Regions from separate parts of the Homo sapiens genome. Here regions 1, 3 and 4 are each linked to region 2. The links are contacts of gene promoters, found by promoter capture Hi-C in human tissues and cell types (Jung and others, 2019). All regions are on one chromosome and are shown on one strand. Each heading gives the region's core, a stretch centred on a gene start or on the middle of the fragment in contact. The rest is flanking DNA. Distances are from core to core; before and after follow the strand shown. Region 1 has its middle 12 kb from the start of LINC01066. Region 2 holds the start of MEDAG (mesenteric estrogen dependent adipogenesis). Region 3 has its middle 35 kb from the start of LINC01066. Region 4 overlaps LINC00398 (long intergenic non-protein coding RNA 398).

Region 1 (3,328 bases), core at 711-3,210, 100 kb before region 2:
TGGAGTTGTAGGCACCAGATGCTCAAATCAAGATAAAAAAAAGGGAAAGCCAAGAGTCTGGGGACAGGATGAATCAGAGCAAATCCAACCTTACTGCTTATTGTTGTGGTAAACTGTAAAAATGGCCCACACTCTTTGCCATATAATTTGGAGCTTGGCTTGTGACTTTGGTCAGTGGAAAATTAGAAAACATGATGCCAAAGAGGCTTTAAAAGGTATGCACAATGTGTGTGTCCTCTCTCTCATTTGATCTCCCTGAGAACATGCCCACGCTCGTCTGCTGGAAGAGGAGAGATACACGGAACAAGCCACGGTGCCCTGGTTCCCAGCCAAGCTCATCTTAGGTCAGCCAATGGCCTGCCGGGTTTCAGATGTGTGATCCAGCTAACTATGGCCAACAGAATTCTCTAGCTGATGAGCAGGCACCTGAGAAAACCAGTGAGTACTCTTGTGTGCCACTGAGGTTTTGTGGTAATGTGTTATGCAGCATGACTCTGGCAATCCATAACTGATACACTGTCTATTAACTTACATTCTAGTTGGTTCTACCACAGGCACATAGCCTGAAGCATCACCTCTTCCTATGGTATGTGTTGTAAATCATGACTTACAAATTTTCTCTTATATCATAATCCTCAGTAAGAATCTGTTAAACATATATATGCACACATGCTATTGATTATATACACACACTCACATATACACCATATTTTGTGAAACACTATTGACCTTTAATTTGTGTAAAGTGCTCTTATTTTTTTCTATTCTATTTCCTTTTCTCTACGCCTAAGTTGTGTCTACTATACACTAAGCTGATGTCATGACTCACTAGGGGGCAGAGAGCTGCAGTTTGAAAACCACATCACGCTTTGCCACAAGACTTTCTTATGTTAGCAATTCAACAGGTATTTTCTGTGCTCTTGGTACCCTTCTCAGTAATGGGCACAAATAAGCACTCAACAAATGTTTGTTGAATTCAACTGAATTGAGAGAAGTTTACAGTTATGAACTTCCTGGGTTTGTGTCCCTAATCCCTACATTTGAGATCTAACTTTATTTCCCAAGATTTCAGAGATATGACAATGACGGTACCCTTCTGGGAGTGCTGTATGAGTCATTCTTCACAGTTCTAGCAAATTGAAGAATGATTTCCAACACTGGCCCTACTGGTGGTCTGTCTGCCCACTCTTAGTGCACCTGCCTGCAGAAGCAAGAATGCAGTCCTGCATCTGCCCCGCCTGACCGTGTGAGGGTGGGAAGACGGAGGCCAAGTGCCGTATCATATCACTCATTGCTTCTCTTATGTCAGGCTGGTGTCTGGCACACAGTAGGTGCTTAGAAAACACCTGTTGAATTGAACTGAAGTGACATCAGGCCTCCAGGTCTGTTTCTTTATCTTTAATGGAAGGAAATTCGACCAGGTTCTTTCCAGCTTTAAAAATCTAATTCTAAGTAGTGTCAACTAAATCTGACTGTCTGCCGAGGTGGAATAAACAGCTACTACATGCTGTGCTCCAGCTGTGTCAGGAAAGGCCCCTCCCCTTACAGACACGCTGCCCACTGATGTGCCGGGCAGGCCAACTGGAGCAGCACAGCTTGGCATTAAGGTGTTCAGCCTTGTCGAAATACAAAAACGTCTGCAAAGGTACGTGCAAGCTATTATCAGTCTTTTACACCAGATTGAGAAAACAACTTCCAGAACTTTGCCTGGGAGCAGACCTTGAGAGAGGGAACAGTACTATATGAAGGAGTTGACCTGCGGTGCTAGGGGAACAAGCTTGGGGTCCTCAGAGATGAAAGGAGTGTGGCGACACTGAAGGTGAACTCGTACCGGCTCACAAATGGCCCAGTTCAGCCACTTGCTGTCTTCCCTGAGCTCTTTCCCAGTGTCTCTCAGCAAAGAAGTGAGAAGTGAAACTCAGAAACTCTTCATCTCCTCTATCCAAAGCCAATATTTTGCTCTATGAGCAATGCTGGCTCTTGCATGTTCTAAGGCAAATTAAAAATAGCTGCTGTGTGCTTATTTTCCTGCAGCGAATTTAAATGTGTGCCACTGAGGCCATCACTTTTTACTTTGAAGAGGCATCATCCCACGTCCTCCCACACAGACTGGATCCTGCACCAGCTCACACACACCTCACGCTGGGAGCTTCAGATCCTGTCACTATTCCAAGCTGGCAATGGGGAGCCTCGGGCCTCAGAGACACCCCACCAAACATAGTCCAGTCACAAGCAATATGGCTTGGGTAACTGCAGTCCCCAGACTGGCTAACCCAATTAGCAAAGGATGGAAACCAGGTGGAGTTATTTCCATATCTTGGCTATTGTCAACAGTGCTGCTACGAACATGGGTGTGCAGACATCTCTTTGAGATCCTGATTTCAGTTCTTTTGGGTATACGTTCAGAAGTCGGATTGCTGGATCATATGGTAGTTCTATTTTTAATTGTTTGAGGAACCTCTATAAAGTTTCAGTTATGCAAGATGAATTAGTTCTAGGGATCTGCTGTATAGCATTGCACCTATAGCCAACGATACTACCAAAGTCATCAATACTGAATGCACTTACAATTTTGTTAATAGGGTATATCTCATAGTAAGTGCTCTTAACACACACACACACACACACACACACACACACACACACACACGGCATAGGGAAAGTTTTGGAGGTAGTGGATATGTTTATTACTTTTTTTGTGATGATGGTTTCATGGGTGTATGCATATGTCCAAATTCATCAAATTGTATACATTCAATATGCACAGTTTATTATGTATCTAGTTGATAAATAAGGCTAGTTGATAAATAAATAGCAATAAAAAAGCTCAATATTGTATTGTATCTAGTTGATAAATAAAGTGCAAAAAAAAAAAAACCCAAAAAAACAAAAAACCCAGGTTGGCCTCAGTTAAAAACTCACTCTCAGCCATGAAGTATGCCCCATAAAGCTCTGTCATCCTCTGACAGCTGCCAAAACTTCCTACATTATCCCAGCAGACTGAAAAAAGACTTGCTGGGAATGGGAAGGTTGAAGTGGAGCCAACACAGATGACTTCTGTGTGCCCCAACTTGAGAGGGGACCAGCAATAGATTCCTCCTGAGGCTCCACCATGCTTGAAAGTGCATCACACACAGGGTAACGGGTTTCAGACTTCCTTGACTGTGACCATTTCACAGGACTCAAATGACTCCATCTTCACTTGGAAACAAAAGTTTCGCACTGCTTATGCTTATGCTGGAAGCTGCACTTTGACAGTAACTGTTGGTCAGTATTTTAGATGCCAGTCATATTCCAGTAAATCAATTTTCTGACCCATTGATCTCAC
Region 2 (3,331 bases), core at 48-2,547:
GTGGCACCAAAGCCTGCTTCAGATGGCTGGGCCACATCCTGCCGGTCTGCCAAGAAGAGCTTGGGGGCACTCTGGCCACAACAGTCAAGCATCCTGGGGGCCTCCTTCCCATTAAGGCCCTCAGGTTTCGCACTTATTTCCCCAGAACTTATCTGTGCCTTCCACAGCCCACATGGCCCCGGGCTGGACTTCCAGGGGCTTTGTTCCCTTCTCAGCTGCGGTTTATTTGTTTACTTTTGAAACACGAAGTGAGGCCAGAGATGGGAAACTTTGAGCTTTTGCATGCTTCTCCACTCGGTCTCCTCACTGGAGAGGGCTGGCAGTGCTCAGAATGGTGCATGCCCCCTGCTCCTCACCGCCACCCATGCTCCAAAGCCAGGATGTGAGTCTTGCAGAGCTGCAGACAGCCCCTAAAGGGTGTGCTCCCAATTTGAGCTCATCTGACCCAGTTAAGGAGCCAGAATGGGAGAAGCATCTGCCACTCATGAGCTCTGGCTGGGGGGCCCCTGCCCTCCCCCTCGCCCCCAGTCCTGATGCCCTTCTGGGCGGCTTCAAGCAGCAGCTGCAAAATGTCAGTGCAAGAGGCAGAAGAACCAGGGCGAGCGTGCAGGCTCCGGGTGATAGAAGCAGAAGGAAAGTCTAGAAGCGCACGGAGCAAGGGGCCACGCGGTGTCGCAGGCAGCGAGGACAGCCCAGGCTCCCAGAGACCGCAGCCGGGTGGAGGCGTCTGCGGGTACCAGGCGACGGGCCAGGGCGCACGGCGAGGCCACCCACCTCTTGATGTAGCTGCTGAGGCGGTAGAGCTGCCCGTCGAGGCGCACGAGGCCGTCACCGAAGACGTTGAAGCCCCCCCGCGCCGCCGCCGGCTCCCCGGGCCTGGCCACCACGAGCTGGTCGCCGCTCAGCTGGAAGGCACCGGGCTGCAGGCGCAGCAGCTGAGCCAGCGGCAGCAGGGCCAGCTCGCAGTCGCAGGTCCACAGGCTGCGAAGCTCCCCAGACGAGATGGAGGTCAGGCTCGGCCTGGCCACCGGCTCGCAGGCCGCCCCCGCCATGCCCGCGTCGTCGGTCCTCACACCGCCTGCTTCCGTCCGGTGCCTACAGCCCCCAGCCGGCACCTGATGGTCCCCAGGAGGGGCCGGGCGCCCTGCCTGCGTCAGCCGCGCGCGAGGTGAGGAGGGGGTCGGTCTGCCCGCCTGGCCGGGACGCGGTGGCCGCTCAGGTGCCAGTCTGACCGCCCGGGCGGCCCCTCCCAAGCTGCCACTCGCTGGGAGCCCTGCAGGCACCGCGCGGAGAAAGCGGCCCCGGCGCAGCGCGGCCCCTTTTATCCGCCCTCTGGACGCCCGCCTCGCCCCTGCCGGCCCACGGCCACGACCCCAGAGGCTCGGGGCAGAGTTATCATCGTCTCATAACTTGGCATGCTCGAGTCTGCTCGCAGGCAAGGCTTAGTCATCCCCCTGGGGTCCACTACTCAACACCAGCGCTGGCCCCCGCCCTGCCTGGCGGACACTGCCGGAGGCTGGAGGTGGGGAGAGTCCTCCCCGGGTTCCCAGGCCCTGCCTATGGTGGGCGGCAGGGCGCACAGCACCCATCCTTGCCTAAGACACCACACCCCTGGTGTTGATTGGAGAAGAAGGCAAGGGCTCTGGCCCTACCCATTCCACCTGGGACCCAGAGGCTGTCAAAGGCCAGTGCTGGAACTCCGATCCCCACCTCAGTACCAGACCTCTCACTCAGCCTCAGTTTTCTGCCATTTTAACTCCATCCAGATCGTACCCTGCATTTCCCTCCTTTCAGCCTTTCCTTCAGCTGGTTGCTGGCCCTGGATCCCTTCCCCCTAGAAATCCCACTGATCATCACATCGCTTTTCCATAAAGCCTTCACGAATCCCACGAGGGTTTCATCGCTTTGCTTCTCCTTTCTACTGCACGGTGAACCCTAGACTGCAATGTGCCGTGTAGTGGGGATAGCAGGGTCCTAGCATCCTCCCTTCTCCCCTGCCTCCCCAGTAGGTGGTGATCTCCTTGAGCCCCAGAATATGTTCATTTCTTCAGTCTATAAATATGTGAGTGCTAGCTATGGGCTCATTGATCTCCTGAGGTATGAAAGGAGAACTATATTATTCCATTTAATTAAACACCTATTTCTGCTGCGGAGAAGCCTGGATGGGATGGGAGGAGAATCTAGCCTAGTTTCGAGGCTTTCTGTAGTACTGTGTTTTAGGATTCTAAGCTACATCCCAAAAGTTGAGTAGAACGTAGAGAATATCCTTAGTTAGTCTTTGTGTGCCCCCACATGAACTCTTGTGTAGGTTTAATCAGATGGGATGAAGAGTCCTCCCGCCACATCTCATTTAAATCTCAGAATATAAATGAGCCCCACTCTCTTCTCTTCTTCTAGGTGCACACCTATCCTTTCTCCAGACATGGATCTTTTACCCATGGGATCATTACCCCATCTCTGGGCCTCTCTGAACAAATCTAATTCACTGAGCATGAATTGATCACTACCCACTCAACCTTTTGTGGCGCAGGAAGGATGCTCTACCTGTGAAAAAAGCATCCAGAAGATCTTCTTGCAAAGGGAGGTTTGAGGATCCCTGCAAAGAGAATGGGTCTGGGGTGGGCTGAGACTGTAGACAGGACTCAGAGGCTGGGGCTGTTTTCACAGGGGAGGGATTTGGTGCCAGCAGTTAAATCCATTGTGCCCTATTTAGAACTTCACTCTTGTCCCAAACATTGACAGAGTCATCACTATGCACCAGGGACCATCTTAAGCTCTGAGGTCACACACACACACACACAAGGATCCAATAAGTGCTACCATAGATGTATGGACTAAGCACTATGAGAAATAAGTGGTTCTGCCCCAAGAAGGGTGCTCAAAGGAGGTGACACATGGCTAGACTTCCAATACACAGGGGAGGCTCCCAGGGGAAGGAGCAGCAGCAATAAGGAGATGGGAGAGAAGATTCTGTACCATTCTATGCAAAGAGAGATGCTATGGTTCCATCTGGGGGAGGGGGGAAATTTTTAAACAGCTAGGGCAGACCATCCTATTTGGGATAAGAGGGGTCAGTTTTATATGAGATGAGACCAGAAAGGGCTGTTGGAGCCAGATTGTGACAGACCCTCTGAGTTGTCAGGAATTTGGATTCTTAAGACAATGAGGAGCCTTGGGATGTTTTAAAGAAAGGAAGTGATATAATTATGCCTCAGTTCAGATAGACACCTTTGGTTATGACCAAAGAAGATGTTTTGAAACAGGAAGATCAGAGGCAGAGAAACCAGTTAGGAGATTGATGTAATAATCCAGATAACATATGATGGGGGTC
Region 3 (3,082 bases), core at 478-2,977, 120 kb before region 2:
GAGTTGGATATGAGCCTGGAACCTGGGAGAAAGATCTGCGCTAGAGATACAACCATGGGAACCACCTGCATACCGGTGGTTATCTGGAGATCACCAGAGGGCATGAGTGTAGATGGAGAAGAGAACCAGGATGGAAGCCAAGACGCTCGAAGGATAAGAGGTCAGGGAGAAGGAGAGGAACTAGCAAGGATCAGCTAGATCAAATGATGGTTCTCATGAGAGGAGCTCAGAGAACTGACAGCGGACCTTCAACATGGTGTTGTTGGAGGCCCTGGAAAGAACTGCCTGGCAGAGGGGGCAGGGGAGTGGCGGGAGTAGACAGGGGAGACGGCGTATGGATGATTCTGATCCTTTTAAGAAGTTGTGCTACAAGGAAACGGGACAATGGCTGGCTGAAAAAAGGGAGATAGAGAAGAATTTTGTTTGTTTAATAAGGGAAAAACAACAGCATTTTAATTAGCTAGTGGGAAGGAGGCAGTAGAGAGTGGAAAGGAGGGAAAGTGAAGGGAGATTTGCAAGAGGGCTCCCTTGAGTGGGCGGGAGACGCTGGGATCTGAGATCGAGTGGAGAGATTTGCTGTGGATGCAACGTGGAAAGGCCATCTGGTATAGCCAACCGGAGTCCGTGATCTGGGTGCTGGTAGGCACAGCGGGGGGTGGGGGTGGGGGGTGGGGGAGTGGAAGCCAGTGGACGTTCCTGCTGGATGGTTTTGATGTTCCCAATGAGGTGGGAAATGAGGCCAACAGCTTAGAGGAAGATGAAAGCAGGATTGTTGGGGATTTGGTAAGAAAGGAGGAAAAGCGGAACTATAGACTTGGCATGAGCACACTCAGGAGTGGTAGGTGACTGCCTGGGGGTCTCAAGGGCCCACTGAAGTTTAAAGCACCTCCGTTGCAGGCTTGCATGTGTACTCCAGCTGTACTCATGCCCTCTCTTTACTTCTCTAATCTCCACTCCTCACTCGGCCTTTGAACTCGGTGAGGTCTGGTGCGCACAGCATGCTGAATGAATGTTGGCTAAGTGGAACTGAGGTCTACAGCACTTCAGGAAGGGCCAACAAAAAGGCAAAGGCAGACAGCTGAGGACATCCCCAGGTAGGCCAAAGGGGAAGGGGTGGGGAGTAGTGTCGTTTTTGGGATCCTGTCCTCTCTCCTGGCCCTTCTCTGCTACTGTGGTGGGTATGGTGTTGGAGAGAGGATGAGGGGTAGAAGAAAAAATGGAAGGAATCTTAAAGCTCATCTCACCTAAACTGAACACAGCTCAATGGCCTCATGGGCCACCCAGACCTGGAGTGACCTCTGGCCCCTTGGCCCTCAGCCCTGCACCTCTAGCCAGTAACAAATCCAGCTGACCCAACCTCCTGAAAAGCTCCGGAATTGTTTCCTTCTCTACCCCAGCTGCTGTTTCAGCCTTTCGTGGTTCCTTCAGCATTTCTTATCTGGATCATAATAACAATTGTTACTATTTACTGAGCACTTACTGTATGCCAGTCACTAGCTAATGGGCTTTTATGTTTGTTCATTCATTGAGTCCTCAAAAGAAACCCCTCATTTTGCAGATGAGGAACCTCAGGCCCCTGAATGTCTGCAATACTCTCCCTATCAGTCTGTCTGTCTCCCGTCTAATCCATCCCCCAATCCCCACCAGCGTGAGCATCCTTAGACATCTATTTAGAATCTGCACAGTGTTTAGGCTGCAGAACAAAGTCCTTGGCAGGGGCATAGATGACTTTTCATTAGCAAACTCTGACTGTCTTTTCTGATCTCCTCATGTTTCTTTCCTTCAAAGGGGCCCTTTACTCCAAAATAAGTCAGCTTCTCCAAAGAATTCAATGCCTCCCAGCCCCCTTCCAGCCCTATGCCCGCTGCTACCCACCATGCTTATTTGGCTCCTATGAATTGAAATGTCCTTTCTGTCCCTCAGCCTGCCTCCCTATTGTCCTGTAGCCCCACCGTGACTGCCCTGGGAGGGCTTTGCTGACATCCCCCATCGCTCCCCCAGTCTGAAGTGGTGTGCCCCCTCTCTGGGTGCCCTCACACCCACTGCAAATCTCTACCCAGCTCCGAGTCCCCACATGCCAAGGTGGGTTGGCTTGTCTGCCTCCCTCAGGTGGACATCCTGAGAAAGCAGTGTTTTAAAAATCTATTTTAGAGCTCATTTCATAGCCAAGTAGGACTCAAGATACAAACATCCTTTTGACACAGAACAGAAGAGAAATGTGTCTAATTTAGAAGTGAAGCCAGTGTCTATTTGGTTTCTCACGCATATGTTTTTTAAGAAAATGCTCTAAAATTTTAAGTTTTTACTGCAACAAATCCTCTGGATTAGGTTGATGTCATGTCCCCTAGGAAAGTAAATATTTTTTTCTGTTGTTGTTAGTTTATTTTATATTCAAATAGGGCAATGTCTTGCCCTGGTTAGCAGACAAATTAGCAGTAGGTCAGGCTGGGATAAAAAATTACTTATTTTTTAATGTATTTATTTGTTATTCAAAAAGTAGTTGTTGAATGCCTTCTTATGATCCAAGAGCTCTATTAGGCAGGTACATTTATCACTTATCAAAAACACTCTTGCCTTTTTGTTTATTTTTTATCAAAAATTTTTAAGGCTGAGGCATGCCTTGGAGTCTGCAGCACTGTGAAAGCAACAAAATAGGAGTTGTATTGTATTTGAAATCATATATTAAAGGTAATGATAGAGTGAGCGCCACACGTGGTAATTAGTTTACAATGTGCTCCTACAAATGCACTCAGACACCATGATTAGTGCTCCCTGGAGCCTTCAGCCCATGAAACTAGCGATCATGGTTCTCACCAGAACTCGACTCTCCCAGGGTATTATGATAAATACCAAGTTGGTTCTAATATTACTCTAAGTGTTTAGGCCTGGGTGTGAGAAGGGATGGCGAGATGAAATGGAGATAAAACACAAAGCTTATGCTTTGGTTGCTTAGCCAGAAATAGGTAAGGAATGAGCCAGTCACCCTTCAGTGAGGTTTTAGGGTGACATAGGGACAACCCCCCCCCCACCAGCCCCTTCCTGCACATATATGTGCCCAGCCTGTGGGAGTTATAATGGGTTA
Region 4 (3,258 bases), core at 52-2,551, 98 kb after region 2:
GGTACCATGTAAAATTTATTTTCCACAGTATATCCAGCATCTAGCACAGTGCCTGGCACACAGTAGGTGTTCGCTACATGCTTATTGAATGAATGAGGCTGGGTGCAGTGGCTTACGCCTGTAATCCCAGCACTTTGGGAGGCTGAAACGGGTGGATCACCTGAAGTCAGAAGTTTGAGACCAGACTGGCCAACATGGGGAAATGTCTTCTCTACTAAAAATACAAAAATTAGCCGGGCTTGGTGGCATGTGCCTGTAATCCCAGCTACTAGGGAGGCTGAGGCAAGAGAATCGCTTGAACCCAGGAGGCAAAGGTTGCAGTGAGCTGACATCATGCCACTGCGCTCCAGCCTGGGCGACAGAGCAAGACTCTGTCTCAAAAAAAAGAATGAATGAATAACTGATTCAGGACTCACTATGTTAAAGTTTATTTTCTTATTCTCAGCTCCCTCTATAGATTGGCTAAGTGATGTTCTCAGGGCTTGGCTGGTCAGTAAACACATTTTTCAAGGCCCTTCATTTCTCCTCCCCCCTTTTGTTCCCAGTCTTCTGGTCATTTTGATATTCATTAACAACCCTTAACATACAGTAGGCAGAAGGAGTAATTTGCTTCTCATTAACTGGCTAAACTATCATTTGGGAATTACTTATTATTTCAATTATCCATGAGATTTCTGTCCACTTGGAGCAGGCAGTTGCATCAGTCAGAATAGGCCAATTGCTGGAATCTATAACCCCCACACCTCAGAAGCTTAAATTAAGCCACTGAAAGTTTATTTCTCACTCATGCAAAGTTCAATATGAATATTTTAGGTCATGCAGTTTTCCTTGGAGGGATGACTCAAGGGCCCTCCCATCATGTGACATTTCCATGTTCGACACCCAAGATGTCAAAGCATCAAAAAATGAAAAACATGATTAATACCTTTTCTCCAGCTAATCAAGCTAGTTAATGCAGTTCAGTAGATGACAGTCCCATCTAGTGGCAAAAGGCACGTTTGGAGATGATAACTTGCCTTTGGTCACTTGTGTCAATCCCCTCTCCCACCCCCAGGCTCCATCACCCCAACACACAGTCCATCAGCAAGTCCAACTGGCTTCATCTCCAAACCATCCCACACCTACTTCATGGACTCTGCTACCCCCAGACCAAGCTCCTGCCATGTGTTGCCTGAACTATTGCAAAATCCTTCTAGCTGAATGTCCTCCTCCCACCCATCCTTCCATGATCTGTTCTCCACAGAGCAGCCAAAGAGAGTGTTCGGCTATTATTTTATTTTGTTTGTGTGCCGTTTAAAGGGTTCTGTTTCCATTTTTTCCTTTGCTGTATAAAAAGTTACTTTGAAGCCAGTCATGGTGGATCACGCCTGTAATCTCAGCACTTTGGGAAGCTGCGGAAGGAGGATCGCTTGAGGTCAGGAGTTCAAAACCAGCCTGGCCTACATGGTGAAATCCCATCTCTACTAAAAATACAAAAAACAAAAATTAGCCAGGTGTGGTGGTGCGTGCCTGTAATCCCAGCTACTTGGGAGGCTGAGGCAGGCGTATTCCTTGAACCTGGGAGGTGGAGATTGCAGTGAGTTGAGATCGCACCACTGCACTCCAGTCTGGGCAATAGAGCAAGACTCAATCTCAAAAAAAAAAAAAAAAAAAAAAAAAAGAGTTATTTTGAAACTTTTGTTCTAAGAATTTTCAAGCATACACAAAATATACCCAGATACCCAACTGTAATACTTATCAACTCATGGCCAGTCTCGTTTCAGCTACACCCCTCCTCACTGTTCCATTTTCTGTGTACTGTTTTGCAGCAACTCCTTGACAGCAAAGGAGCTCTATAAACCACAAATCAGAGCAAGTTACTTCCTAGCTTAAAAACTTTTAAAAGCTCTGCAGGGCATTTACAATGAAACCTTTCGGCTCATTCTGGCACCCAGAGCCCCGCCTTACTTGGCCTGCTAATCTCTTTAATGGTATTTCCTCACTCTGCCCCAGCCACAGCCACCCTCTATTCCTTGGGCTCACTCAGTTGTATCCCTACCCCAGTGCCTTTGCACTTGCTGCACTGCTGCCTAAACTACTTTACTACTCTACATTTATGTGGCTGGCCCTGCCTGGGCATTCACGGCTCAACTCTCATCTGCTCTGAAAGGCCTCCCCAGCGAGTCTGTCTCTGGAAACACCCCCAGCCCCACTCCTCTAGCCAGCCACTTTCCACCTTAACACTCTGAAACTAGTTTGCTCCTTTAAAAGATGTGTTTGTTCTAGCTAGGTGCAGTGGTGCACACCTGTGTTCGCAGCTACTTAGGAGGCTGAGGCAGGAGGATCACTTGAGCCCAGGAATTCAAGTCCAGCCTGGACAATATAGTGAGACCTCAGCTCTCAGGAAAAGAAAAAAAAAGTGCTTGTTCTAAAATCAAAGGTCCAGAAAAGCAACTAGACTAGTGCATGGCATATGATAAGCACTTAATATTTATTGAGTAAAAACAAACAAGAATACAATTTTAAAGTGTTAGCTTTAGGGCAGTTTTTGAAAATAAATTTTCCTGGTGCATTTATAACAGCATTTGTTAGAAAAAAATATATTTATACAAATTTATTTTTTGAGAGAAAAAATACCACTTGTAGTGCAAAGGCATGTTCTTCCGTGAAAGATCATACATGACTCAGGCTCTGATTCTGCCAAGAGGAAAAGGAAGTCAGGACAACGTGACTATTTTTAGTCCTTAGAAGTAGCCATGCCTCCAGCTAAGATGTGAATGGAGGAATCTGTGGCTTATAAAGTTGATTTGGATGATGAGACCATACTCTGAAGACAAACTCTTAATACCGTGCCATGACAGAAAAACATTAAGGAGACAAGATTCATGAATTCTGAAATGAGAAGTGGAAGTTTAAAAATATATATATATATATATATATTTTGAGATGGAGTCTCACTCTGCGGCCCAGGCTGAATTGTAGTGGTGCCATCTGGCTCACCACAACCTCCGCCTCCCGGATTCAAGCTATTCTCCTGCCTCAGCCTCCCGAGTAGTTAGAATTACAGGCTCGATCCACCATGCCCAGCTAGTTTTTGTATTTTTGGAAGAGACAGAGTTTCACCATGTTGGCCAGGCTGGTCTCGAACTCCTGGCCTGAGGTGATCCGCCCGCCTCAGTCTCCCAAAGTGCTGGGATTATAGGCATGAACCACCACGCCTAGCAAAAGTTAAAAATTTGAGATCGTTAAAGAAAAGCCTCCATTTAAGGCCTTTGAGTA

What was found. The method cuts DNA at HindIII sites, captures the fragments that hold promoters and counts their contacts. A contact is called where the count stands out against the background at its distance.
Region 1: a fragment that was not itself captured here is called in contact with the fragment with the promoter of MEDAG in region 2 in 2 of the 25 tissues and cell types used here (aorta and dorsolateral prefrontal cortex).
Region 3: a contact is called between a fragment that was not itself captured here and the fragment with the promoter of MEDAG in region 2, in 3 of the 25 tissues and cell types used here (H1 embryonic stem cells, dorsolateral prefrontal cortex and mesenchymal stem cells).
Region 4: a fragment that was not itself captured here is called in contact with the fragment with the promoter of MEDAG in region 2 in 3 of the 25 tissues and cell types used here (IMR-90 fibroblasts, aorta and dorsolateral prefrontal cortex).

The regions. Positions count from the first base shown.
Region 1 is chr13:31,006,423-31,009,750 of GRCh38, reverse strand. No RefSeq gene overlaps it. Among named protein-coding and RNA genes, the nearest start is that of LINC01066, 12 kb to the right of the region's middle. The HindIII fragment of the contact is 4,413 bases long and covers 1-3,328 here.
Region 2 is chr13:30,904,237-30,907,567 of GRCh38, reverse strand. MEDAG (mesenteric estrogen dependent adipogenesis) reads right to left here and starts at 1,297. Exons shown (of 5, transcript NM_032849.4): 1 at 775-1,297. The coding sequence starts at 1,052. All of the region lies in intron 2 of TEX26-AS1 (TEX26 antisense RNA 1), which reads left to right. RefSeq lists an enhancer at 195-696. The HindIII fragment of the contact is 12,319 bases long and covers 1-3,331 here.
Region 3 is chr13:31,029,594-31,032,675 of GRCh38, reverse strand. No RefSeq gene overlaps it. Among named protein-coding and RNA genes, the nearest start is that of LINC01066, 35 kb to the right of the region's middle. The HindIII fragment of the contact is 6,324 bases long and covers 1-3,082 here.
Region 4 is chr13:30,806,416-30,809,673 of GRCh38, reverse strand. All of the region lies in intron 1 of LINC00398 (long intergenic non-protein coding RNA 398), which reads right to left. Among named protein-coding and RNA genes, the nearest start is that of LINC00398, 4.8 kb to the right of the region's middle. The HindIII fragment of the contact is 6,903 bases long and covers 1-3,258 here.